Regions from separate parts of the Homo sapiens genome. Here all the other regions are linked to region 4. The links are contacts of gene promoters, found by promoter capture Hi-C in blood cells and fetal thymus (Javierre and others, 2016). All regions are on one chromosome and are shown on one strand. The core of a region is centred on a gene start or on the middle of the fragment in contact, and the rest is flanking DNA. Distances in the headings are between cores, read along the strand shown.

Region 1 (6,106 bases), core at 1,495-3,994, 190 kb before region 4:
CCACTGTGAGTTCCCATGGCCCCGTGTGCTTCCATTACAGCAGGCACCAGATTTTACCTTGAAGTGTAACCATTTGTGCACACATCTCTGATATCCGTCAACATTTCTCACATCACCAATTAGGTGCTGGGCGCTGTGAAAGAATGTTAGAAAGGAAGACTTAGAAAATGTTTTCTTCTTTTTGTGAGGATGTGGAACAGGTAAGGCAGAGAAGGAGTAAGTAATGATAATCCAGAGGAAATAAGTATTGCAGTGGGGTCTGTGCAAACTGCACAGTTCCATGAGAGAAGTGCTGTGGGGCCAGGGGTAAGAACACTTGATTGTGTTCCTCAAGGATGAGATTGGCTGGAGACAAAAGATGGAATGCAACGGTCTGTATTTATTTGCATCCCAGAGTAGACCCTGTGGAGGGGGGCCAGGATTTTATCTGACAACTTTTTTTTTTTTTTTGCCAGTCTCCCCTCTAGCCATAAATAGTTATTGTAAGGAAAATTAAAGTGATCCAGGTTGTATCCATGTGGGCTGTCTTTTATCTGGCATAGCATTTTTCACATGCTGTACATTCAATGAATGTGTTATTGTCTAGCTATTTTCTTTTTTTATGGAAACAAACAAACCTTTTTTTTTTTCTCTTTTTGAGATGGAGTTTCACTCTTGTCACCCAGGCTGGAGTGCAGTGGTGTGATTTCAGCCCACTGCAACCTCTGCCGCCTAGGTTCAAGTGATTCTCCTGCCTCAGCCTCCCAAGTAGCTGGGATTACAGGCACCCACCACCATGCCAGGCTAATTTTTACAGTTTTAGTAGAGATGGGGTTTCGCCATGTTGGCCAGCTTGTCTCAAACTCTTGACCTCAGCTGATCCACCCACCTCGGCCTCCCAAAGTGCTGGCATTACAGGCGTGAGCCACTGCACTTAGCCCATACAAACTTTTTAAAAGTTTATTTACAAGTTTCCCCCCAAACATATCTGTAAGCTGGTGAATAGCCAAAATCGTACTATAGCAATACAGACAGGAAAAGGACATTGACTTTTAGGATCCTATTTCTTCTCCTCCCTTCCCCATGCCTCAGGTCTAGCACAGCACTGGGGCACAGCAAGCGCTTAGCAGATACTGACCTGGCTCTCATGAAGCCAGGTGGGCACTATTGATTGGACCCAGGCTTCGCTTAAGGTAGCAGGAAGCTGGTTTAGAGGAAGGAGAAGAAAACCTAGTCCCTTTTAATCTAATGAATTAAAATAATATTTATGGGAAATATTTGCTTTATTCCAGGAAAATGTTTGAAGTAAACATTTCCTGCAAGCTGTTGAATTTATATAATAAAACATTGGTTTGGAAACCTTAATTGTTTTCACTGAAGTGAAAATTAAGCAGAACATGCTTCCCAAACAGCCCCTTGTCTCAGTTTTGTTGCCATTGTAATGTTCAAAGCAGGATATTGTGGCCATTGAGGTAATTTTCTCTTTATTGGTAACTTGGAAATGAGCAAGGATCATGCCAAAGTTAGTTATAAAAGAGGAGGCACTCATGGCTCCTTGTAGTTTTATAGCAATTCAACCTTTGTAGCGTCCTCCTGTTACTATTTGATCTTCACAAACTTATGCATTAAAGAGTCAAGTTTATCCCCATTTGACGGATAAAGAAATTGAGTCACAGTGAAGGTAATTAACTTCTGGAGGGTCAAACAGGGAGTTTGTGGAAGAGGACCAGGCTCTTTACAGCCCCAAGCTCTTTTCAAAGACCATACTGCTGCTCTAGAAAGCACTCTTTCCTCCTTCAGGAATTAAAGCACTTTCACGTCTGTGAGATAATTTAACCTTGCAACATCCCAGTGGGGCCAGCAGGTTAGGTATGATTATCATTTCCCTTCCAGTGATGGGAAATTAAGTTACACAGGTTAAATGGTTTTGCCAAGACCGTGCAGTCAGTGTTGGAACCAGGGGATGGTGCCCAGGCTTCACAAACACTGAGCCCACTCTTTTCCTACCACACTAAGCCTTCTCAGAGGAGAGCCAGAGGAGCTTCTGATGCCTTGAAGACAGCTGTGAAACATCTTGCTTCCAAGAGGGCCTTGCTTTCCTAGCACCCACGCCAGATTGTGTGAATGCTTGGTTCTATAGTCTCAGCGGGTCATGCAAATCTCCAGTCCTACGATCACTAAGAAACAAAGCAAAAGGGGGCAAAGCCAGATAGATTTTACCAGCCTGTTTGGATTTTGTGTCCAGTAGAATTAGCAAGTGAAAGTTGTAGGATTGCTACAGAAGAGTTGCTTAGAAATCAATTAACGTGACAAACTGAGGTGCCTCAACAAATAAATTATATGGAGAGATAAAAGTTGTTAGGACTAAACACAGGAAGAATTTGCCACTTGTTTCTCTGTAAAAGGTAAAAACATAACAGTGAACTGTGTCTAACTTATGTTAAAAAATTGAATTTGGTGAGAAGCCTAGTTTTAATAATATTTCATATGATAATTTAAACTCTCTAACTTTTGCCTATTTAACCCCATCTTGTATTCTTCCTAAGAGATGTGTCAACACTAAAACTTTTCTTAGTTATTCCAGCTGAATATGGCAAAGCTACAATAGCTTTTCCCAGATGCAGACTCTTAACACAATCGCTGATATTCAGTAGAAACTCTTTGGATAGCAGATTTGGGAAAGAACCTTAAGGCCAGCCTTTAGCCCTCTCAAATTATAGGTAGAGAAACTGAGACCCTGTAAGGTTCTCAAAGCTAATTAGTCACAGGGCTAGCCCTCAAACCCAGGCTTTCTGGCTACAGATCTAGTATGATTGTTGAGACTGGGCCGGCAGCTTGTGGGCACCTGCTTGGTAGGAGTGAGGGGGAGAAAAGTAGTAGGGTGTAAGCCTTGCCTACTGTATATCTTCTCAGCGTTCTTTATTTTTTATCCATTTGTGTGTCTGTCTCCCATACTATACTGAGTTCCATGAGTACAAGGGACTAAGTCATACTCGTCTTGGTATCTTTAACCCTAAGCACTTAGCCTGTGATCTAGGAAGCCCTCAAGGGTTTGTTGCACTGAACCAGTCTGTTCTGTGTCAAGGTCAACTTACCGGAAGGGGCTGCAGGTAGTACAGCTCCTTAAAGCACCTTCTATTACTAGTCCTTCAGCAGAATCTTACCCAGTGAGTAAACCCATGCAAAACTTTTGCATCTCTCCTGAAAGCAGAACAAGACCTGCCCCCATGAAAAGAAAGAAATAGGGAATCCCTTTATAATTAGATTTAGTGGGCAGTGGTGAGATGTAGTAGAGATGAAACTTTAATAGACACATAGTCTTTGGGTGATGCCAAAATTAATCTAACTTTGTGGGTTAAAATGAATTTTAAAATTTTTCTAAATGTTCATATGTTTTTCTCTGTATGTTGTTAGAATTGTCATCGGGTTCTTTCTAAAGGCTGTGTGAAAGAAAAGAGCAAGCCAGGTGCGGTGGCTTACACCTGTAATCCCAGCACTTTGGGAGGCTGAGGCGGGCGGATAACCTGAGGTCGGGAGTTCGAGATTAGCCTGACTAACTTGGAGAAACCCCATCTCTACTAAAAATACAAAATTAGATGGGCATGGTGGTGCATGCCTGTAATTCCAGCTACTTGGAAGGCTGAGGCAGGAGAGTCGCTTGAACCTGGGGAGGCGGAGGTTGCTGTGAGCCTAGATTGTGCCATTGCACTCCGGCCTGGGCAACAAGAGCAAAACTCCGTCTCAAAAAAAAAAAAAAAGAAAAGAGCGAAAACATCTTTAGTACTGGTTCTTGCCCTAGGACAGAAGTGGCTGTTTGCTGTACCTCTCAGTGGACACTGAAAATGTGGATGTGTCCAGTTGCCTGCTGTCCAGCAACCCTGGAAGAACTTGTGATGGCTTTGTCTTCGTTATGAGAACACTTTGATCTGAACCCCTTTCCTTTTCTGAATCCTTTCCCTTTTTTTTTTTTTTTTAAGACAGTCTCACTGGCTGAAGTGCAATGGCACCATCTTGTCTCACTGCAACCTCTGCTTCTTGGGTTCAGGCAATCCTCCCAACCCGGCCTCCTGAGTAGCTGGGACTACGGGAGCACACCACCACACCTGGCTAAATTTTTTTTTCTCGTAGAGATGGGGTTTCTCTATGTTGCTCAGGCTGGTCTCTAACTCCTGGGCTGAAGTGATCCTCCTGCCTCAGCCTCCCAAAGTGCTGGGATTACAGGCATGAGCCACTGTGCCTGGCGTCTGAGTCCTCCTTCTAAAGGGAACCCACTGCACAGCATCTGGCTGCTGCCAACAAAATGACTGCCCCACCAGTCCCACAGGTGATGAGAGTTTGCAATGGCCTTCACAGCTTAGTACCTTAGTACCTTTTCTCTCCTGGTAACTTAGAATGGAAGCCCCATGGGGGCCCACGCATATCTGCGAGGGTGCACAGGCATGTGGCAGAATGAGCCAGGGGCCACCCTCTTGTTCTGGAGGTGCTGAGAGCCGGCCTGGCTGGGGGCTGTAACTGTCAGGCTGACTCCCAGCCACACTGTCCTCCCTGGAGTAGGTGCTCGAAACCTTTGCTTTTTGCCTTTTCGCTTTAATCTGGAACGCTTGGGGAAAAAAAAAAAACAAAAAAACAAAAAAACAACAACAAAACAGTAGACCAAATGGTGACTGAGTCCCAACCCTTCTTCAGGCCAGATGAAATCATGGTCCCTGCTGGCGCCATTCCTCCATCTCAGAGCCCTCACTTGGGTTCAGACCCTCAGTCACACAGGGAGCCCCGCCACAGCTGAAGTGTTTTGTCAGAGCAAGATTGCAAAGAGTTAACACTTTTGCTTTTTCGGAAAGTTATCTGTGAAGAGTATTAGTTGTTTAATAAAGCGTGCCTGCCCTCCCGATGAACCCGCCAGTGACTCTGCAGCTGGGGTCATTCCAAGTTCACGCAGTGGACTTTTGACTGCCTTCTGTGTCTGTGAAAACAGTCGGCAGCTCCTGCGGGGATCATTCATTCAGGCCTGTAACACAAAACTATTGCCAATGGGCACCTGCTGGGGCAGCTTCCCGGGAGGGCTGGGAGGAAGATACCAAACTCATCAGGCATCTGTGGAGATAAGAGCGGCAGGGGATCCACTGGGATCCCGCTAATCAGGCCTGCACTTAGACCCCACTGCCTGGCCAACAGGCTGGTGTCAGAATGTATTAGGCAGCCCTGGCCAGGATAGGATGTGAGCTAATTAAAGGCCTTTTACAAAGAGGAGGAGGTAGGGGGTGGGGAGAGAGAGAGAGTGAGAGAGAGAGAGAGAGAGTGTGTGTGTGTGTGTGTGTGGAGGAGGAGGAGGAGGAAAGAAGTTTGAAGTGCATTCCCCAAATTTCCAGCACATTCTTTATTCCTCTGTTTTATCCCTCAAAACAGAAGAAAACAAATTAGAGGCTGAGCATTTGGTTATTTCTAACCTGAAATTGTCATTCATTGTGCCTGATGCCGTATTGGTTTTAACTGCTATTTTTGTGGAATTACATATACTGTGAAAGACATCTTTTGCCGCAGTCTCCCTGGGAACATCCTGTTGTTGAAATGCCGTTGGTCAGCTGCTTGAATTTTGCCCTTTTCTCTGACTTTGACACATCAAGGCAAAAATAGGTACCTATTTGTGGTGTGTTCTAGGTTTCTCCCTTTTGCTTGGAAAATCCACTTGCCAGCTGTGAAGGGTGCTGCTGGGAGGATGAAATGAGTCAGTGCACAGCGTGTGCTCTTAAAGTTTGGTGGTTGAGGTGGCGGTGGTAGCAGCTTGGCTCTGTGGTTTAAAATGCCACAGCATGCACTATCTTGAAAATACTCAGTAGTCCTAGCATACAACTGGGTTTTAGTTACACCTACTTAAGGAAGAAAGCTCATTTGAAAGTGTTTGATTTTCCTGTACTTTCGTTTGTTTATTTAGCCTGTGTATTCCCCCCACCCCCAGTAAGCAGCAAACTAACTTATTTATAGGCCTCAGGTATGTTTAAATCTGTGGTATTTTCTTAATCAGCCTGATAATGATACATTTTTGAAAGCAGTTTTGTTCACACATAAACCTAAGCCTTTATTATATTATTCTGATACATTCCACATAAGCTTGTCTGTGCACAAAGAA
Region 2 (5,942 bases), core at 2,302-4,801, 140 kb before region 4:
TATTATGTAGGTCGGGGTCCCCTAGGTCTGTTAAAAAAAAAAAAGTTCAGGGCTAAGCGTTTAAGAGGAAAAACTATTTCTTTCATTTCTAGCTAAGTCTGATGGGCCCTTTCAAACACTGCTTTCATCATGCACCTTTTATTTCACGATTTCTGCATAATGAAAATACAAGATCGATAACTGTGGATTATCGTAATGCCTTGAGCCTTTGAAAATGAACATTTTCTAGATTATAAATGTTCCCTTTGTAATTCATTTCAAACTTCATCCTCCCATTTGTCCTAATTCCCGAAATTTAACTGTTGCCTTTTGAGCCTCCTAGGAAATTCTGGGTATCCTTTAGGCAAGGGAGGTAGCTCTTGGGGGAATAGCATTCAGGCCACAGGCAATTCATTTGCGACTTGGGCTCTTCTTAGAACATATGATAAGTACAACGCACTGTAGTGACAGATTTTTTAAAAACCCTATTAAAGCCCAATATACTAATGCAGATTTTTTTTTTTTAAGTTTTAGAGAGATTCATGGGATTTTATTCTTTTTCCCAAAGGCAGTGGTGGAGCTGACAGAGTAGCATGGAGCCTCGTCCTGATGTATTGTGCGGAAGTGGCAGCAGTTCACATTCATTCAGTTTGTCAGCATAGGATCAGTTCCTTCTTGACTCAACTCTCTGTGATCAAAATAAGCTATTGGATGTTCCCTTTGGGTACTGGAAGCAGCTTGGCCCCTTGGCAAGAGAACAGGATTGCAAATCACAAGAGCAGAGCCCTGACTCCAGCTCTGATGCTACTGTGCTTTGTGACCTTGTGCAGACAGCTTTATATCCCCATCTCAGGTCATTCTCCCCCATACAAAGGGGGAGAGGGTCATCCTTGCCCTGGTCATGTCTGCATGGCTGAGGTGAATAACTAGTTGTGTAACTTCCTGGAGGAGTGGCACAGAGGAAGCTCCCTTCCTAGGGCTGGCTCTGCCATCAGGGAGGAAGCTGGATATTAGAATGAAGAAAAAGCCCATGCAGAATATATGGCAGCCCGATAATGGATTCTAAAAATAAAAAAGCACTAGGTTAATCTGCAGCTGTAGTGTACCTAAAGTATTCTTTGGCAGGTTGTGGCCCTAGCCTAATCCCCAGCTGGACTTAGCACCATTTAAGTGAGTTACATCTCATCCCCGCAAGGGATTGAGTCTGTAGCCAATTTGGCCTTGTCACCACTTCAGCCCTCCCTCTGATTTCACCTTTGGGAAAACTACAAAGTGGCCCCAGACATACATAGCAGGCTTGATCACATGGGTGGAGTCTGTCAGGACAGCATACATCAAATAAAATGTCCAGGGAACCTGTTGTAAATAAACCACTTCCCGCATGCTCAGTCATCGTGGAGGTACTTGAATGTTTAGTTTCTTTTAGCTGATGGCCAAGAAATCAATGTTTAAAAAAAAAAAAACAAAAAACAAAAAAACACCTTGACAGAGGCATTTTGTACAAGAATGGTGTGTGGGTGTGAAAAAGTAAATTCCAAAACATATTTCCTTTTAGTTCCCAAACCCATATTAGATGAGTACTTCTTAGCCTTGGCCACAGTGCTAGAGTAAATAGCAGTGTCACATAGCTCGTGGAACAGGCAAACCACAGAATGTACAAGAGAGAAGCGTGCACACCAGTGAGTCTGCTATGGCAGCTCTCTTTGTCCTGGTTTCTACATCTCATTTGTAAGCAACTTGTGTTCCTGCATTTTCAGAGTTTGGCCAGTTTATTTACTTAGAATTGCATGTTCCTGGAATATTGTCATAAAAGTGATCCTGAGATAGAAAAAGTCAACAGGAAGCAGGGGCATTGAGTTTATAAGTTCTCAGTCTGTCTTGGCCCATATTAAAGTCTCATTCTCAGGGGTAGGTCCAGCTTTCCAAATTTTAATATATCAGAGACTCCTGATGCATCTGGGCTCATGATGGGCCAAAGTAGGCCTTCAGGAGTCCTCGTGTTACACACTCAACGCCTAATGGAGACTGGATTCATTTACGTGTATTAATGTAACCTGCGTGATCATGTGAGTGCAAGTGCTTTGTAGATTGTCCTGGGAGATGTGGCATATTATGACTAAAGACTTAATTGAACCCTGAACATGTATATGAATAACTGGAGACAGATTGACTGGATTACACATTTTTCTTGAAAATTTCCTAAATTTAGCCTACCTCTTTGTTGCCTTTTATTTCCCAGCTTAAGTGGTTCTCTATAACACTATATTTTAAACAAACCAGAACAAATAGTATACAAAAGCATAGACAAGAGGGATATAACAAGAGATGGTTTTCTGTGATCCGTGGCACCTCCTCTCTACCCTGCCTCCACCACCAAAAGGGGCTTTAAATTAAGATTCGGAATGGCAAATTCACTTACCAGCTCCAAACACAGTAGACAAGGAAACCTTGTGAGGAAAATCCGAGAGTATATTTACAGTTTCTGTTCAGAAATACATAGCTTAACTTCGAAGGAGGAAGCGTGACTTTTCACCTGCAGATAGAACTAGGGTCTGATTTGAAACAGACCACTGGCTTCACTGAACCCCATCAAAGAAGTCTGCTTCTGCCCGGAATTGGAAAGTGCCAGTGGGCATGTAGTTGCTAGTATGGGATTTCTGTTTTTATTTTTAACAAGCTTGGGCCCAACTCTTAGTATCAAGATGGGTGAAGACAAAACTGACCAGAAAAACACGTATCAAGTCAGCAGTGGCTCACCCCTCAGAGGCCATTTTTCCCACCTGCTCCTCTTATACCTTTGGTTTGTTTTTGGTTTTGGATTTTTTCTCTATGTTCCTCCTACTCTTTCTTTCTCTATTTTGCTTGGGCCTTCGTTAGAAGAGTTCTAGTAATCATTTCAGACTTCCAAAATTCAACCCAGTAGCCTCATTTTACAGGTGGACCCACTAATACACAACAGCTCGATGTGACAAACCATAGACTCACAGTTAATCACTTGGAGAGCCTGGATTCACCTCCGCGATGACCTGCCTTTCCAGCCCTCCAGTGGCGTCCTCTGTAGTGAGTTGTAAATGTGCCACTCTAGAACATTCCAGGAAAGCCCTCCTCTTGGGCTAAACTCTAAAACTAAAATGAAGTCCTGCCCATGTGAGCTGCTTGTTTAACACTTTGGATGCTAATCAGAGCATTAATGAGAACACATGGATAGATTCGGCAGGTCTAATGCTTGGGACCTTCTCCTATTTGATTCCATAAGACTAAATCCCCTATAAACACTTCCCTCCTGTGCACACACACATGCATTCACATACAGCACTCACGTATCCCTCCCTTATAGCCAAAGACCGAAAAATAAATTTTTTTTTTCTACATTAAAAATAAGACCAGCTAGTAACCAGGGTTGGCATTCCCATCTCCTGTGGAACCTGGAAGGACTAGCAGATAGCTATAGAGATCTGTCTCCTTTTTAGTGTGGTTGTATTAAGGGCAATCTTGCCTCCCATGGCACCCCAGAAAATCCAGGAGTTCAAGTGGGGGTGCACTGTAGGAGGACTCAGCAGCTGTTTTATGGAAGGTTCGTCAGGGATCAGACTGAAGATTTTGCTTTTGTGAGAACAAAGTGAAATGTGACATTCAGGAGCAGCTCGGGGCCTATATATAGGGGCCCAGGGCCTGCTGGGATGGGGTTTTACACTTGGGCTGTCCTTTTGCCCTTCCCCTGAACTCTTTTCACTTCAGTCATGAGCAAACAGTCAGTGCCTGAACTAACAACCCTGTAGTCCTCCGAAGCACGGCTGGCTTACAGTACCGAACAAAGGGAGGGAGTGCCGCGTGGGCCGGCCCAGGCCGAGGAATGCGGCTTCAGGGTTCTGCTCCATAAATTTAACCAGCACGACGAAAAGGAGATAATATGAGCCTTCGTGATGATCTGAAAGGGGGAGGTTCTGTGTCCCATTGATTGCGGTCTGGCCCAATGCCAGGCCCAAGCCTGACCGACAGTTGAACCATATCATTAAGGCGTGTAATACAGCTCGAGTCTTGTACTGCCGCCAATGAGTGCATATCCACAGGGCAAAAGTTTATAAAGAGTCGAGGCTGTCCTGTTTAACCCTCTCACACTGCATGTAATAGAACCAGCTGCCATTCAGAACTTGCCCATCTGAGGTCATAAAGGAAAGCCTGCACGTTTCTTTTCTTCAAACAGCTTTTCAGGACTGGGGAGAGGAAGAAACGCTGTCTAGAGAGGGTCAAGGCACGGTGATGTTTCTCTCTGGAGAAGCAAAGCAGTCTGCCTCCCTCCCCCCGGCCAGAAACGGGACACCTTAGTGCTTTCTTCAGAGTAGCTCTCTGTTTGTGGTATAATGTTGCTGGAGGAAACAGGGCTGACACCACAGGAAACCTGCCTGTCTCCAAGGAGGCCGCATCGGTGGCAGAGGTGGGTCAGATGCCGGCCGTGGAGTGCTCTTGTCAAGCTTGGGATGATGCCGTTTTCCTTCCCCATCACCTCGAAAGCTGTTAATAGCCTTGCTTTCTGGCCTTCCACAGCTACGCCCAGGTGCTAAAACAGAGCAGGTGGAAGGCCGCCCCACGGAGTGGCCTGTGAGCCCAGAGTTCTCACTGTCCGAGGCCGGTGGCCCCATGGGAACTCTGTCCATTCAATAGGGAGGGCATGTAGAAATAGGCACATTGTCACAGCAAGGCCTGGAGTGGCCTGGGTTCTTACAGTGGGCACTGCATTGAGGAAATGGGCAGACAAACAAGGATTTAGCATAAGTATAGTCAGAAAGAAAGGGCTGCCTGTGTTCAAAGGACAAAAGGAAGAAAGTGGGCGAAGGGGTAGTTTAGTCCTGTCCATCAGCCAGTCACGTTCTTTGGCCAAACTCGGGACCTGCCTGTGCTTTGTCCATGGTGTCCAGGAAGAAATCTGTGTCTGTCACTTCCAGATTGCTGCTTGTCTGCAATGGACAATGCCTCTTAGGCAGACACCTGCTCGGGATGACAGTGCTGCAGAAATTGATCCAAAACATTGACTAGCTTGCATGGTATCGCTGTCATTAGTATTCAGTCTTCACAACCACCCTATGAGGTGGGTGCTATACTTTCCCCATTGTACAGATGGGAAAGTTGAGGCACACAGGGGATACGTAACTTGTCTAAGATCTCAGAGGTAGTAAGGAAGGGAACCAGAATGTGGACCCTGGCCAACTGAACACAGAGTACATGCTCCTAATCTCTGTGCTGCTTCTGGGCCATCTCTCGGTCCCTCACATCGAAAGACCTCATGATTTCAATCCAAAGCATCTGACCAAGTGTTAGGTCTACTTCCTTTCGATTCTTGGATATGAAGGGTAGGAGCTTAATATCTGCCTATAGCCCAGAAGATTTGTGCAAAGACCCTGGTTCACTTGGAGAGGAGGTACTATAAAATTTGGACCCCACAATGCGAATGAAGGGTATGTATTGAATTCCCTCAGCCCACCAGCTTAACACAGAGACAGTGTGAGGGATATACTATAGCTGGGAAGCTTGGAAGGGCTCATGTTCAAGGGCCTCTTTGGGCCAAACAGCAGTGGGCCTGAGCATGGAGAGACCCTGGCCTTTTAGTGCCAGTGCCTAGAGAAGCAGGTCACTAAGCTTTGTGCCCAGGAGCTGTGCTGTCCCTGGTCCATCCCTGTGTACCCCATTCCACTCCTGAAATAATGAACTACTGCAGCCTTCCAAGTTCACAGTGTGCCAGTTTGTCACAGAATAGCAGTGACACTTCTCTGCTGCAACCCATCTTTGCTCTGCCATGCTGCCAAGACCATCTTCACCAGGCGGTAACCTGGGAACTCCAGCTGGTACACAGTACAAGAAGCCTCCGCAGTAGACTGTCCCAGGTGCATGTGCTCAGTATGTCATAGCCATCTCCTTTTGGAGGCCAGGGAGAGCTTCTGTTTGGGTGCCACGGATCCTGGACAGAA
Region 3 (6,184 bases), core at 1-2,500, 230 kb before region 4:
ATTGAACATGTTTATGCCAGATATGAAGATATGGTATCTTCATCTGTAAAATGGGGATAGGATCTACCTCACAAAGTTGTTACAAGAACTAAAGTACAACAAAAAGATAAGCGTAAAGTATAAACAAAGTATCAATGAAATATGTGGTAACCTAAAAAAGTATAAGATTTAAACAAGATAATGTTAACAGTGCATATTAATAGTGTTGTTAATTATTATTAATAACATAATATCTTAATAACATTAACAACAAGAAGATATGAGATCCTTAATCAGATAATTAAAATATTGTGTTAATGAGAGTAGGAGTGGAGGGTGTATGGAAAGGATTTGTATTCCCAGATTTAGAGGGTGGGGAGCTTCCTAAGAGAAGTAGTACTTAAACTGAGACCTAGAGTTTAACTGAAAGGAATTAGCCAAATAGAAAGGTACAGGTGGAGGGGCTGTGCCCTCAGTAATAAGCATGTTCATCAACAGGTATTTACTGAGCAGCTACTTGAGCCAGCACAGGTCTAGGTACGGAACATTTACCAGTGAACGGACAAAACTCCCTGCCTTCTTGGAGCTTACATTCTAGTGGGGATGGACCATCATTGACCAATAAACATAGGAAGTAAATGACATACGATGTGGAAGTTGACTAGTGAAGGCCCACAGGTAGCAGAGTGATCCTCAGCCCAAGTGGCACACAGAATGTGGTAAGAAAGAAGGCTGGAGATAGAAGCAGGGGCCAGATCATAAAAAGTCTGAGATACATACTAAAGAATTTGTGGTTTTTCTAAGGCAACAAGGAGTCAGGGAATGGCATGATTAGAAAATTGTTTTAGATCACTTCCTCTGGCTGCAATGTAGAGAAGCAGAGTGGGGCAAGACTGGAGATAGTGAAATACCAGGTAGGAGGCTCTTGCACTAATGTAAATGAAGGGTTATGGTGGCCTGAACTGGAAGAAGTGGCAGGGGTGGACATGAGGAGGCTGGAGAGAAATGGATAGAAATGAGAGCTTACTTAGGAGTAGAGTCAGGCAGATTTTGTGACTGAATGTGGGAATGAGGGAGAGGAAGGAGTCAGTAATGGCCTCCAAGGTTCTGATTTGGGCAACTCACAGGATGATAATCCAGATCACTAAGGGATGAACATGGAGCAGACTTGCAGAGGAAGGGAGGAGTTAGGTTTTGGACTTGTTGAGTTAAGGTAACTGTGTGATATCTATGTGAAGATGTCCATAAGTCATTGTAACTATGGCTCTGAAACCCAGGGGAGAGATCTGTGATGGGGATAAGGGTTTATTAGGTCATAGCGTAATCAGAACAAAGGAAAAAAAAGATGTTGGAATGTAGCAATGAGCTCTCTGAGATAGTGCATCACAATTCACAACACCACTTTTTATTTATTTATTTATTTATTTAGCTATGTCACTCTCTTTCACCTAGGCTGGAGGGAAGTGGCAAAATCATAGCTCATTATAGCCTCGAACTCCTGGGCTCAGGTGATCCTCCCACCTCAGCCTCCCGAATAGCTGGAACTTAAGTGCATGCCACCATGCTTAGCTAATTACTTTTCATTTTTTGTGGAGATAGGGTCTCGCTATGTTCCCCAGGCTGGTCTTGAACTTCTGGGATCAAGCGATCTTCCCACCTTAGCCTCGCAAGTAGCTTGGACTACAGGTGTGTGCCACTGTGCCGGCTCACAATACCACTTTAAAAAACAATCTTAAGGCAAAAATGAATGCAGTGATCTTGAGGTTTGCATATTTTGACTTGAGCTATAATTTGAGATCATCTGCAGATATCTAACCCCACTACGTGAGGCTCTCAAGGTGTATAGCTTGAGTTTGCCATGCAGACTTGAAACCAAGTTTGCTTCTTTATTACACAAATCTTACCTTACCAGTGCTTTGGAAACCATTCGCTTCCATAGGATTATTGATTATATAATGACTTTTGACCTACACAGTTGTTCTGGGTTAGAATAGGTTTCAATAAGGAAGAGTGAATCATCTTCTTGTGGTGTTTTATTTGACTTCAGATAACAGATTTCTGCCACCGGAAAAGCAGCCGTTCATATGAAGTGGATGAACTTCCTGTCACCGAACAAGAGCTGCAGAAATTAAAGAATCCAGATACAGAGCAGGAATTGGAAGTAAGGTCTAAATATTGTGAATTTATTTATTTGATCATCAGTTTTTTAGAATTTTACTTGGTGGTATTTTAGACCTTCTGTTTTCTTTCTATCCTGTATGATTCTAAATATGAGTTACGCTTCACAGTGTTTACTGTTTATCAGTGAATGTGTGAATGTATTATGTAAATGACAACAAAGTTTATGTGGAATCAGCATGTAGTAAGCATTGCTAAACTATTATTACAATAAAGGAAGCTAAATTGTTTGAATTTCAGTAAGATTTAAGACAAACAATTTTTTGTTTTTTGCTTCAGCCATCTCTGACATCTTCCTTCTGTTTTCTCTGTTTGGGATTGGAGAGTGACAAGTTTGAAAAGGAAGATGAGATGAACATGAAAAAGTATATTTATCTGACGTTTATTCAGTGATTTTTGAAAAAATCAAATGCCTATGTGTAAAACACTGTGTTGGGTGCTATGGAAGTGTAGTGGATAACAGATTATGAGCTTTCATCCCAAATAAGGTGAAAGATTACCAAATAATTAGATTTCTATAATGAAATGCAGAATGTCATCAGTCCTTTGATAGAGGTATCATCACATACTCTGGAGTTCTCGTTGGGGTGAAGGGTATGCCTAGAAAGCAAGGCTTCCAGTGAGATGATAGCATTTGAGCCCTCCAGGTAAATAATAGGACTCCCCTAAGTGGTTTTCATCTGCTGAGAGATCGGGAGTAGAGGAATGTAAAATGCTTTATTTTCTTATACTCTCCTGGATACTGTGAGCTGTGTTTAAAACAATCAGGGTGCCATATTTTGGTTTCCTTTCAGGTGCTTGTGAGGTTAGAAGGTGGAATTGGGTTGTCCTTAATTAATAAAGTCCCAGAAGAACTGGTCTTTGCAAGTCTTACAGGAATCAATGTGCACTATACACAGCTGGCAACCAGTCACATGCTTGAACTCAGCATACAGGATGTACAGGTAAGGGGGAAGTTCCAAAGCTGTTAGTCACCTTGTTTTCATGCTGATCACCCAACCAGATCTAATGTTTGATGTTCTAAGAACTTTAATGTTTTGGAGGAAATATCTTGTGGCCTTCAAAAAATCATTCTGTGAAATAGTTGTTTCTACCTACATTCGTCTCATTAATTTTTCTACATACAGCAGAATTCTGCATATATTAGAGGTAACTCAGTCAGGGTGTCATGGAGGAAGGTGACCCATGGTTCACCATCTTGCCAATAGAAAAACCAATAGGAAGTCATCTAACCATCATTCGGAGGGATTGAGGTCTGTCATAGGGAGAACAAACTAAAGAACTGGACTTTGCTTTCAGTCAAGATGGAGTAACAGGGACTAAATTTACCCTCCCACCTGAAACAACCCCAGAATCCAGATAAATAAGAAGACAATGGTATTGAGACACTGGACATCAGACAATGAAGGACAGTGCTTTGACAGGTGGGAAACAAACGAGCTGAGCCCTGTAATTGCCTTTCTTACCAATTTGAGAACGTTTCCAGGGAGGGGAGACCAAGCAAGTACCCAGCACAGTGGAGAAGTTGAGAAAACAGAGCTGAGAGTCTAGAGAGACCAAGGTATCTATAGTTATAGGATGGTACACTTGGGCATAGAGAGCTGCACAGAAAAACTCTGAAGATCTATAGACCGTCCCTCTTGAGTATTTAGCCAAGTATTAGTCAGTGATGTATGTGAGGAAACTACCCATCTGAAAGGATCAGAGGGAACAGTGCCTGCTGCCCACACAGGGCTAGGAATAGTGCTTGTGCCCACCAGCTGGACTGGAAAAACTAAGAATTTATGAGACGTTGGGAAGAGTCTCAGGAAAGCCTTGCCCTCATGATTAATTAGCCCTAAACTGAGCACTGCTATAGACTGCCTAAGAAATCATAAAAGGAAGATCCGAAAGAATCAACCTCTTCCCAAGTAAATTAACCATATCCTTGAATAAAGCTCAAGAAGATTATTGGAATATGACAATTTAGCACCCAACAAGGTAAAATTCACAATATCTGACATCCTATCAAAAATTACCAGGTGTGCAAAGGAGTAGGAAAACTTTCTATATAATGAGGAGACTAATTGGTCAAAACTGATTCACAACTGGCACAGATGTTAGAATTTTTGGAGGACGTTAAAACTGTTAATGTAACTGTATTCTCTGTGTTCAAAAGGTTAAGTAGGGAGACTAATTGGTCAAAACTGATTCACAACTGGCACAGATGTTAGAATTTTTGGAGGACGTTAAAACTGTTAATGTAACTGTATTCTCTGTGTTCAAAAGGTTAAGTAGCAATATGGAAGACATAAAAAAACTAAAGCTTGTAGAGATTAAAATGTAATGAAAACTACACTGGATGGAATATAGCACACAACTGTGAAGGAAACTATACCAAGGCACATCATAATCAAATTACTCAAAACCAGTGTTAAAGCAAAGGAACAAGAAAAAAAAGACATGCTATGTGCCAAGGAATAAAGATAAGAATGACAACAGATTTCTTTTTGGGAACAATGAGAGTGGGAAGACAATGAGCAACATCTTTAAAGTACTGAAAGGTATCAGCAGACCCATGCTACAAAAAATGTAAAAGAACATCATCAGGCAGAAGGAAAAAAATAGTATCAGATTGAAGTCTGTTCTACACAAAGTAATGAATACCAGAAATGATAACTACCTGGGTAAATATATAAGATTATTTTCTTCTTATTTAAAGTAAGAGTGAGATTCTTATCAACAATAGCATAAAGGCTGAAGGGGAGAAATGGAAGTCTATTAGTGTAATCTTATACATGATGTGGTATGATGTCACTTGAATGTAGAATTATAAAGATAAACAGCATAAACTCTTAAAGCAACCACCAAAATAACAAAGAGTTATAACTAATAATTCAGCAAAGGAGATAAAATGAAATTAGGCCAGGTGAGGTGGCTCACGCCTGTAATCCCAGCACTTTGGGAAGCTAAGGCAGGTGGATCACTTGAGGTCAGGAGTTCGGGACCAGCCTGGCCAACGTGGTGAAACCCCATCTCTACTAAAAATACAAAATTAGCCAGGTGTGGTGGCACACACCTGTAATCCCAGTTACTCGGGAGGCTGAGACAGGAGAATTGCTGGAACCTAGGAGGTGGAGGTTGCATTGAGCCAAGATTGTGCCACTGCACTCCAGCATGGTGACAGATGGAGACTCTTGTCTCAGGGGGAAAAAAAAAAAAAAGAAATCATAAAAAAATAATCCAAGAGAAGGCAGAAAACAGAAAGCAGGGAAAGGAATAGATAGGACAAATAAAAAATAATTAGCAAGATGGTAGACTCAAACCTAATGGTATCAATTAACTAAATTTAAATGTTGTAAACACCGTAATCAAAAGGCAGAGATTATCAAATTGTATAAAAAAGCAAGAACCAATTATATGTTGCCTACAAGAAACACACATTAAGGATAAAGACACAAATAGGTTAAAAGGAAAGAAGATGAAAAAAGATATAACATGTTGACCCTTGTCATAGGAAATGAGAATGACTAGATTAACATCAGACGGAATAGATTTCAAAGTAAAGAATATTACTGGTGTAGTCGGGGTTCTCTTAGAGGGACAGAACTAAAAGGATATGTATATAAGTATTAACTTACATGATCACAAGTTCCCACAATAGGCTGTCTGCAAGCTGAGGAGCAAGGAGAACCAGTCCGAGTCCCAAAACTGAAGAACTTGGAGTCCAATGTTCAAGGGCAGAAAGCATCCAGCATGGGAGAAAGATGTAGGCTGGGAGGGTAGGCCTGTCTCACATGTTTCTGCCTGCTTTATATTTGCTGGCAGCTGATTAGATTGCACCCACCAGATTAAGGGTGGATCTGCCTTTCCCAGCCCACTGACTCAAATGTTAATCTTTTTTGGCAGCACCCTCACAGACACACCCAGGATCAATACTTTGTATCCTTCAATCCAATCAAGTTGACACTCAGTATTAACCATCACAAGTCCACCCTTTGTCAACTGCCGAGATTATAAGGTCATAATTACACCTAACATAATACAG
Region 4 (6,017 bases), core at 2,533-5,032:
GCCCTGCCTCAGTTTGCCACAGTGCACTGTGGGTAAGGAGAGATGTGTCCGGAGCTTTCAAATTCTTACAGCCTTAGTGTGCCTTTAAAAAAAAAAAAACCCTCGCTTATTTGGGCCACCTTTGCACCCTAAGGCTCACCACCACCCACAAATATTGCCAAATCCTATTTAACTCAAGGTCATTATGGGAAACTGGGTTGTCAACTCTCTCCCTCCTTCCCAAATAAACAGATAACTCCTGGACACGTCAGCTCTTTGCAGAGACTCTGGTACACTTTTTTTTTTTTTTTTTTTTTGCTTTTTGGGGTCTTCCCCCTCCCAGATCCAGTCCCACCAGAATCTAGGCTGGGAAGCTCTCAGATGCAGCCACCAGAATCTAGGCTGGGAAGCTCTCAGATGCAGCCTCCACTTCCATCAAGAGGAGAAGGGATGTCATCTGTGGTTCCACACAGCCGCCCCCTGTCTAGTATCACTGCAGGCTGCGGGTGGCACTGGACCTCTCTGGTCTAGTACTCTTGGGCCACCCCCAAGCCCACTGTTCACACCTGTCCCCAACCCATAATTTCCCCACTCCCTCGACACTTGACCCTTTGTTCCCAACCCCACTAGGCCTCAAAACACTCCTGGCTCTGGGGGTTTGTCCCAAAGTCCTCTCATTGGTGTTAGGCAAGAAGCCACAATTCCAAACTCCCCACCATGACAGCAAACAGAAGCCTCATTATAAAGTAGCTCCAGAAGCCTCATTATAAAGTAGCTCCAGAAGCCTCATTATAAAGTAGCTCCAGTAATTGGTCAGATAATGGCGAGTTACAGGGAGCACTGCTGGTCATCCTGACAAGTCAGATGACTGAACCGAGCATGAATGGCACTCGAAGTTTCACAGGCCCCCATGGATCCTGTTTTTGTTTTTGGTGACCCTGACACCAATTTAAGACACATTTCTAATTGGCCCTGGCTGGATTCCCTGGAAGAGGACGTCCAGTCCAAGTTAGGTGGGGTTTGGTTCCCGGTGCGTGAACTTGCAGGCTCCACTCTGTACTATCACACCCACCCCCCAATGCCATACACTTCTTTCAATTTAGGATTGTTTATAGTCAGTCGAGTTTTTCCAGATTGACTAAGAGTTCCTCATCTGCCTACTGTAGTCAGCTACAAGAACAGTAAAAGAGACCCAGGACTTGGGCCAGCTGGAAGACTCAGAAAAAAGTTTCTGTGGGATGCAGACAGCTAAAGAATGACAATCACATGCAATTGTCCCAAACCCCACGTCCGCCCCAAAGGACACCCTCATCTGCCCTTTTCAGTCCCCTTCACAAAGAGCTTCAGGAGCCCTTTTATGGGGCATCGCCTCAAGGAAATGAAACTGCTGAGAACAACTCTGACTTCCCCTTATTCGTTGTGTCCAAGGGTTAAAAACGCTTCCCAACTCCCCCTCCAAATGCAAGGTCAAGCGGCTGTCCAAACCACCCAAGGAGAAGAGGGAGTCCTGGACAGCCAGACCCCTGCTAGCTTGGCCACCACAGGCTCCGGCCAGCCCGGCTAGGGAAGAGTTAATCGGATCGGCTTTGGCTGATAGTTCAGGCTCCAAAGTTCAGTCCCAGTCAGAGCCACCCCGGAGGAATTGTAAATCTCAGGGCAGTATTTAACAAAACAAAAGCAACCTGGAATTACATGCAGGTTTGGTTTTCTACAGTACATATTTACTTAATCCCCAAGGTATGCGGCTCCATGTCAGATCAGCTGGCTTTGCGGCCCTTTCACCCCCCTAGTTCACAACAGTTTAAGTTTCAAACTAATTCCCTGTTTTCGCTCTTCCTCTTCACAGGGCTGGCTGGAGACAGCCTGGCCTGCCTCCCTCTCCTGATGGCTCTGGTCACCGCGTGAGTCAGCCTGGCCTGGGCTGGGAGTTGGGTGACAGCCTGCCCACTCTCCCCACTCTGGCACCAGGTCTCCAAAACCTGGAGCAAGGGGTGCCAGGACCACCAAAAAGTTAAAGGCCGTGTTTGGTGGGCAGGACCCTCCTTGCAGCACCACCTTCCAGCTAAATGGGGAGGGATCCCTGGGGGGTGTACTGGGGGGGAGGGGACAGGGTTGAAGGTGAGAACAAGGGCTCTTTATCAGTAGCTGCTTACCCTGGCCTCCTCTTTCCTGCTTTCCAAACACCTGGGCCTCTCAGTGTCGGTCCGGCCAGACTACTGCATACAAGACCGCTCTTCCCTTTTCAAACCCAAACCAAGTACCCTCTCTCGTGTCTTCAGAGCTGCAGCCGCCCAGGTTGGGGCTGGGTAGCGGGTTGCCAAGGAAAATACGAGGCGCCAGCTAGCAGGCGGCTCCCAGCTCTACCCAGGAGTGCGCACACCCTGCACTCACCAGGGTGGCGGCAAGAAAAAGGGGGGAAGGCGGGGGAGGGGGGCACAACACCTTCCTTTGGGAGGCAGGAATGTGGGAAATGGTGGGTCTCTTAGGTTTCAGGGTGGGGGTGAATAGCCAGTCAGCCAGCCACCGATCCCAAAGGAGCGGATCAACTCTGAACCTGCCAAAAAAGACAGTCCGGTGCCCGGGAAATTTACAAGGTGAAACCGACTAGCTCAGCACTCGTGGGTGGCGCGGAGAAGTGGGGTGGCCGGCGACTCTCAGCTCCCGGGCGCGGGATCCCGCAGCGGCAGCAGGTGGGCTTACCCCCGCCCCTGCGGCCCCCCACTCCCTGGAGTCGCAGTGCCTGGTACCTTTCTGGCGCCGCGCTCCGCGAACTCGCGGGCGAGCTGACGCCCGATGCCTCTCCCGCCGCCGGTGATGAGGACGTTCTCCCGCGACAGGTCCCGCAGCTTGGCGGGCAGCACCAGTCCGACGGCTGCTTTCACCACCAGATAGATCATCTGTAGAGGGAACATCACCAGCGCGCCCAGCCGTTTCCACACCATCCTCCGCGCCGCGGAGCCGGGCAGGGGGCGAAACTCCCCGGGCCGAGCAATACAGGAATTAAAAAACACCCCGAACAATAAATAGTAAACCGAATAAGGAGGAGAGAGGCGTCCCACCTGGCCACTCTTGAAATCACCTCTTCCCAAATGCAAAGCACCGGGTGAGAAAAAGAAAAAAAAAAAAAAAAAAAAGATAAATTCTCCTCTGGGGGAGAAAAAGCGTCTCCTAAGGTTGGGACGGTAAAAGAGGTGGAGGGGGAAGCCGGAGGTGGAAAGTTCTAACAAGAAGTTTCTTGCCCCAGCAGCCGTTTCGGCTGGGGAATTCTCAGGTAATGTTTACAGACTGACAGAGGAGTTTAGGGAGGGGAAGAAAAAAAAAAAAAGGCACCAACCACACGCGCGCACCCTGCCTCGGTCCCGCGGTTTCAAAGTGCAAGATTAAAAAAAAAAAAAAAAAAAAAAAAAAAGCTGATTCCAAATTGTAGCGCCCCCACCCCCACCCCGTCTCCAGAAAAAAAAAAAAAAAAAAAGTGGGGGGAAAAAGTGCTTGGAGCTCCCAATTTCAGCCCGCGAAAGTCTCCCGACTCATTGCTATTCTTGGGCTCAGGAAATTGCTTAAACGCGATCTGATTGCCAGCAACGTGCAGGAGAAGTGGGGGGTCCGGGTGTCAGTTTCTTTACGTGCAGCGCTCGCCCTCGCGCGCGCTCGCTCGCTCCGGCTCCCTCCCTCCCTCTCTGTTCCAGCAGAGGCTGGGAGTTGCCGCTCGATCCAGCTCCCCTTCTCTCCCTTTTTAGCATTTATTGCCTTCTTTTTGTCCTTTCCAACTTGGAGAGGGTCCGGGTGTGGAGCGCGCGTGGATCGGACGCCTTGGTCTGCGCGGCCCTATTCATTCGCTCCCCGGGCAGCCGCGTCGCGGAGAGGGCGGCCCCTTTTTCCCCCATTTTTTCAATACCCCATTAAGTCTGATTGACAGTTAAAGTTGTTGGGAGGCTTCACTACCGTTCCTCTGAGTGGCTGCTGCGGCCTCCCCTCCCCCTGCGCCGTCGCGGGGAGCGCGCATAAGGCGCGCACTCGGGCTCGCCGGGACTCGCGCTCTCCCGGGACTGGCTCCCCTCTCTGCAAGCCGGGACTTGCCGCCGGTGTCCCTGAGGGCTCGCAGCTGTAACTCGAACACGCTGGAACCGACTCCGGCGAGCCGGCTGCCTTCTCGAGACGTTCCTCCTTGCCCGGGCCGCCCGCGGGCCAGGTGATCACCCCGAGTGTGGAGCAGGCCCGGGGGAGCTTGCGTATGCCTTGATCCAACCAGGTCACCCAGGGTTTTATTTCAGGTCATTTGGTCATCCTCGGCCTCCAGGTAGGATCAGGAAGCCACTCCTCACCTTTGCCCGGACCTCTTCTGTGTTCACGTAGAGTGGACTTTTAAAAGCCTGACCCAAGTGCCTCACGATGCTTAGGGGGAAGCCGCTGGGGAGCAGGACTTTGCTTTGAGGGGAGGGAGTAGTCAAGGTAAAGGAACCTCTGCTCCGAGTGCCAATAAAATCCCCACAAGATTAGCTGGGAGCATATTTATTGCTCATCTGAGCTAGAATTACCTTGACTGACACCAATTTCCTTAATAACAAAAGCCTGTAAACAAAACGTCCTATTCGTGCGCCCCTGTGCTGTGCAGCCAGCGTCTCCTGTCCTTGGGTCTCCCTGGACTGCCCTGGCGGGGCACCCACCTTCTAACCTCCTGCCCTTCCCGACCGGAATGTCTCCCCTGCTGGAGGGTGGGACCGAGCTATTTAGAGTTGTCTGTTGCAGGAAGTCTGGGAGGTGAGTCACTAAAAAGCAGCCCCAGTTCAAAGTGCTGATGGGACTTGCCTCCCGCCCCCCTGCACGTTCCCGGGGCCGGAGGAGCGAGAGCGAAGCAGGGAGCTGCCCTGTAATCTGGGGCAGCCGTTTCCAGCCCGCGACTTGTTCAGACGGCGATTCCTGGGCCTCACCCCCAGAGATTCTGATTCAGCAGGGCTGGGTGCGCTGGGATCGGTACTTTCAATGCTCCGCCTGGTGAGAAAGTCACTTCGAAAAACGCTGATCTGCGGGGAGGGGAGGCTGGGATTACCTCGTCACCTGCAAAGACCTAGTTCTGGGGAGAGGTTCTGCAGGGGAGGATCTTCCTTCTGGGTGAAAAGCCACTGGAAGAGCAAAAGGCAGGAGAGGCTTAGGATGAGCAACTGTCCTGCACTGAGGGCCTATATTCTGACACAGTCCTTCCCCTGACCTTGCAATCGGGGGACTGTTATCCCATCGTCCAGGTTACCCAGCCAGGAAGTGCAGGAGGGGGGATCCCAATCCAAACCTCTTCCCACTCTGACCAGACGGGAGGAGAGAAGTGGAGGATGGGGTTCAGCTAAGGGTTGCAGAGCAGAGACCCCCCCACCCCCCTAACGCCCCCAAGAGTCTGACCGAAGGGCGGACCAATGTCTCCATCAGACCCCAGGGCCGGAATCCATTGTGGTGACGGCCTCCTCTCATCTTCGAGGTCTGTAAAAATGGGAAAGCGATTCCAGCCTGGGAGTGACAGGCCTTTCCCACCCAGCAGCGGCTGGTGTCCGCCAGGCCTGCGAAGAAGCCTGGAAAGATCTGAAGACAGAACCAGGCTGCAAAAGCGGGCTTTGCTCATCTGTTGTCCTCGGAGCCGCCTGGTGGCCCAGATAGGATACTGCGCCTCCGAGCTGCCCGGCCTCCAACCCAGCGGCGTTCCTGCTAACTAGCCATGCTTTTCTTCCAGGCATTTCTCTCATGTAAGGTTAACACCCCAAGTCTAAAAGGGCTTGTGAAGATCATAGTCCTCCTCCCCCACCCCAAACACACTTTTATGGCTGGGGAAACTAAAGCCAAAAGATATGAAGCAACTCATATACAGAGATGCATTTTCACCCCGGTCAGATGCCAGACCGGCTGGGTAACCGTTAGGTCCCTCTTACATCTCTCTGGTTGTGTGCCTGGGATGGAGGGCAGACGGTGGGAAGGAGGTCGGGAACCCAAATTGGCCTTTAGTGCCTCAGGGCCTTTACACAGTTTCTGATTGAATTTCCTTAACAGCCCAGGGA

What was found. The method cuts DNA at HindIII sites, captures the fragments that hold promoters and counts their contacts. A CHiCAGO score of 5 or more calls a contact.
Region 1: a fragment that was not itself captured here is called in contact with the fragment with the promoter of DHRS3 in region 4 in 10 of 17 cell types (activated CD4 T cells, naive CD8 T cells, non-activated CD4 T cells and 7 more); the score reaches 14.9 in activated CD4 T cells.
Region 2: a fragment that was not itself captured here is called in contact with the fragment with the promoter of DHRS3 in region 4 in 4 of 17 cell types (non-activated CD4 T cells, activated CD4 T cells, naive CD4 T cells and 1 more); the score reaches 8.1 in non-activated CD4 T cells.
Region 3: a contact is called between a fragment that was not itself captured here and the fragment with the promoter of DHRS3 in region 4, in 8 of 17 cell types (activated CD4 T cells, total CD4 T cells, naive CD4 T cells and 5 more). The highest score is 15.1, in activated CD4 T cells.

What each region holds. Positions count from the first base shown.
Region 1 is chr1:12,428,673-12,434,778 of GRCh38, forward strand. All of the region lies in intron 65 of VPS13D (vacuolar protein sorting 13 homolog D), which reads left to right. Among named protein-coding and RNA genes, the nearest start is that of SNORA59A, 76 kb to the right of the region's middle. RefSeq lists an enhancer at 4,815-4,959 and a cis regulatory region at 4,882-4,892. The HindIII fragment of the contact is 6,682 bases long and covers 1-6,085 here.
Region 2 is chr1:12,474,460-12,480,401 of GRCh38, forward strand. All of the region lies in intron 67 of VPS13D (vacuolar protein sorting 13 homolog D), which reads left to right. Among named protein-coding and RNA genes, the nearest start is that of SNORA59A, 30 kb to the right of the region's middle. RefSeq lists enhancers at 3,288-4,145, 4,146-5,002 and a silencer at 3,635-3,929. The HindIII fragment of the contact is 1,795 bases long and covers 2,655-4,449 here.
Region 3 is chr1:12,383,234-12,389,417 of GRCh38, forward strand. VPS13D (vacuolar protein sorting 13 homolog D) reads left to right here. Exons shown (of 70, transcript NM_015378.4): 59 at 2,027-2,140; 60 at 2,952-3,101. Among named protein-coding and RNA genes, the nearest start is that of SNORA59A, 120 kb to the right of the region's middle. The HindIII fragment of the contact is 6,419 bases long and covers 1-4,460 here.
Region 4 is chr1:12,614,428-12,620,444 of GRCh38, forward strand. It overlaps DHRS3 (dehydrogenase/reductase 3), which reads right to left and starts at 3,783. Exons shown (of 6, transcript NM_004753.7): 1 at 2,727-3,783. The coding sequence starts at 2,921. RefSeq lists enhancers at 3,408-4,039, 4,040-4,671, 4,672-5,303 and a silencer at 5,539-5,790. The HindIII fragment of the contact is 18,116 bases long and covers 1-6,017 here.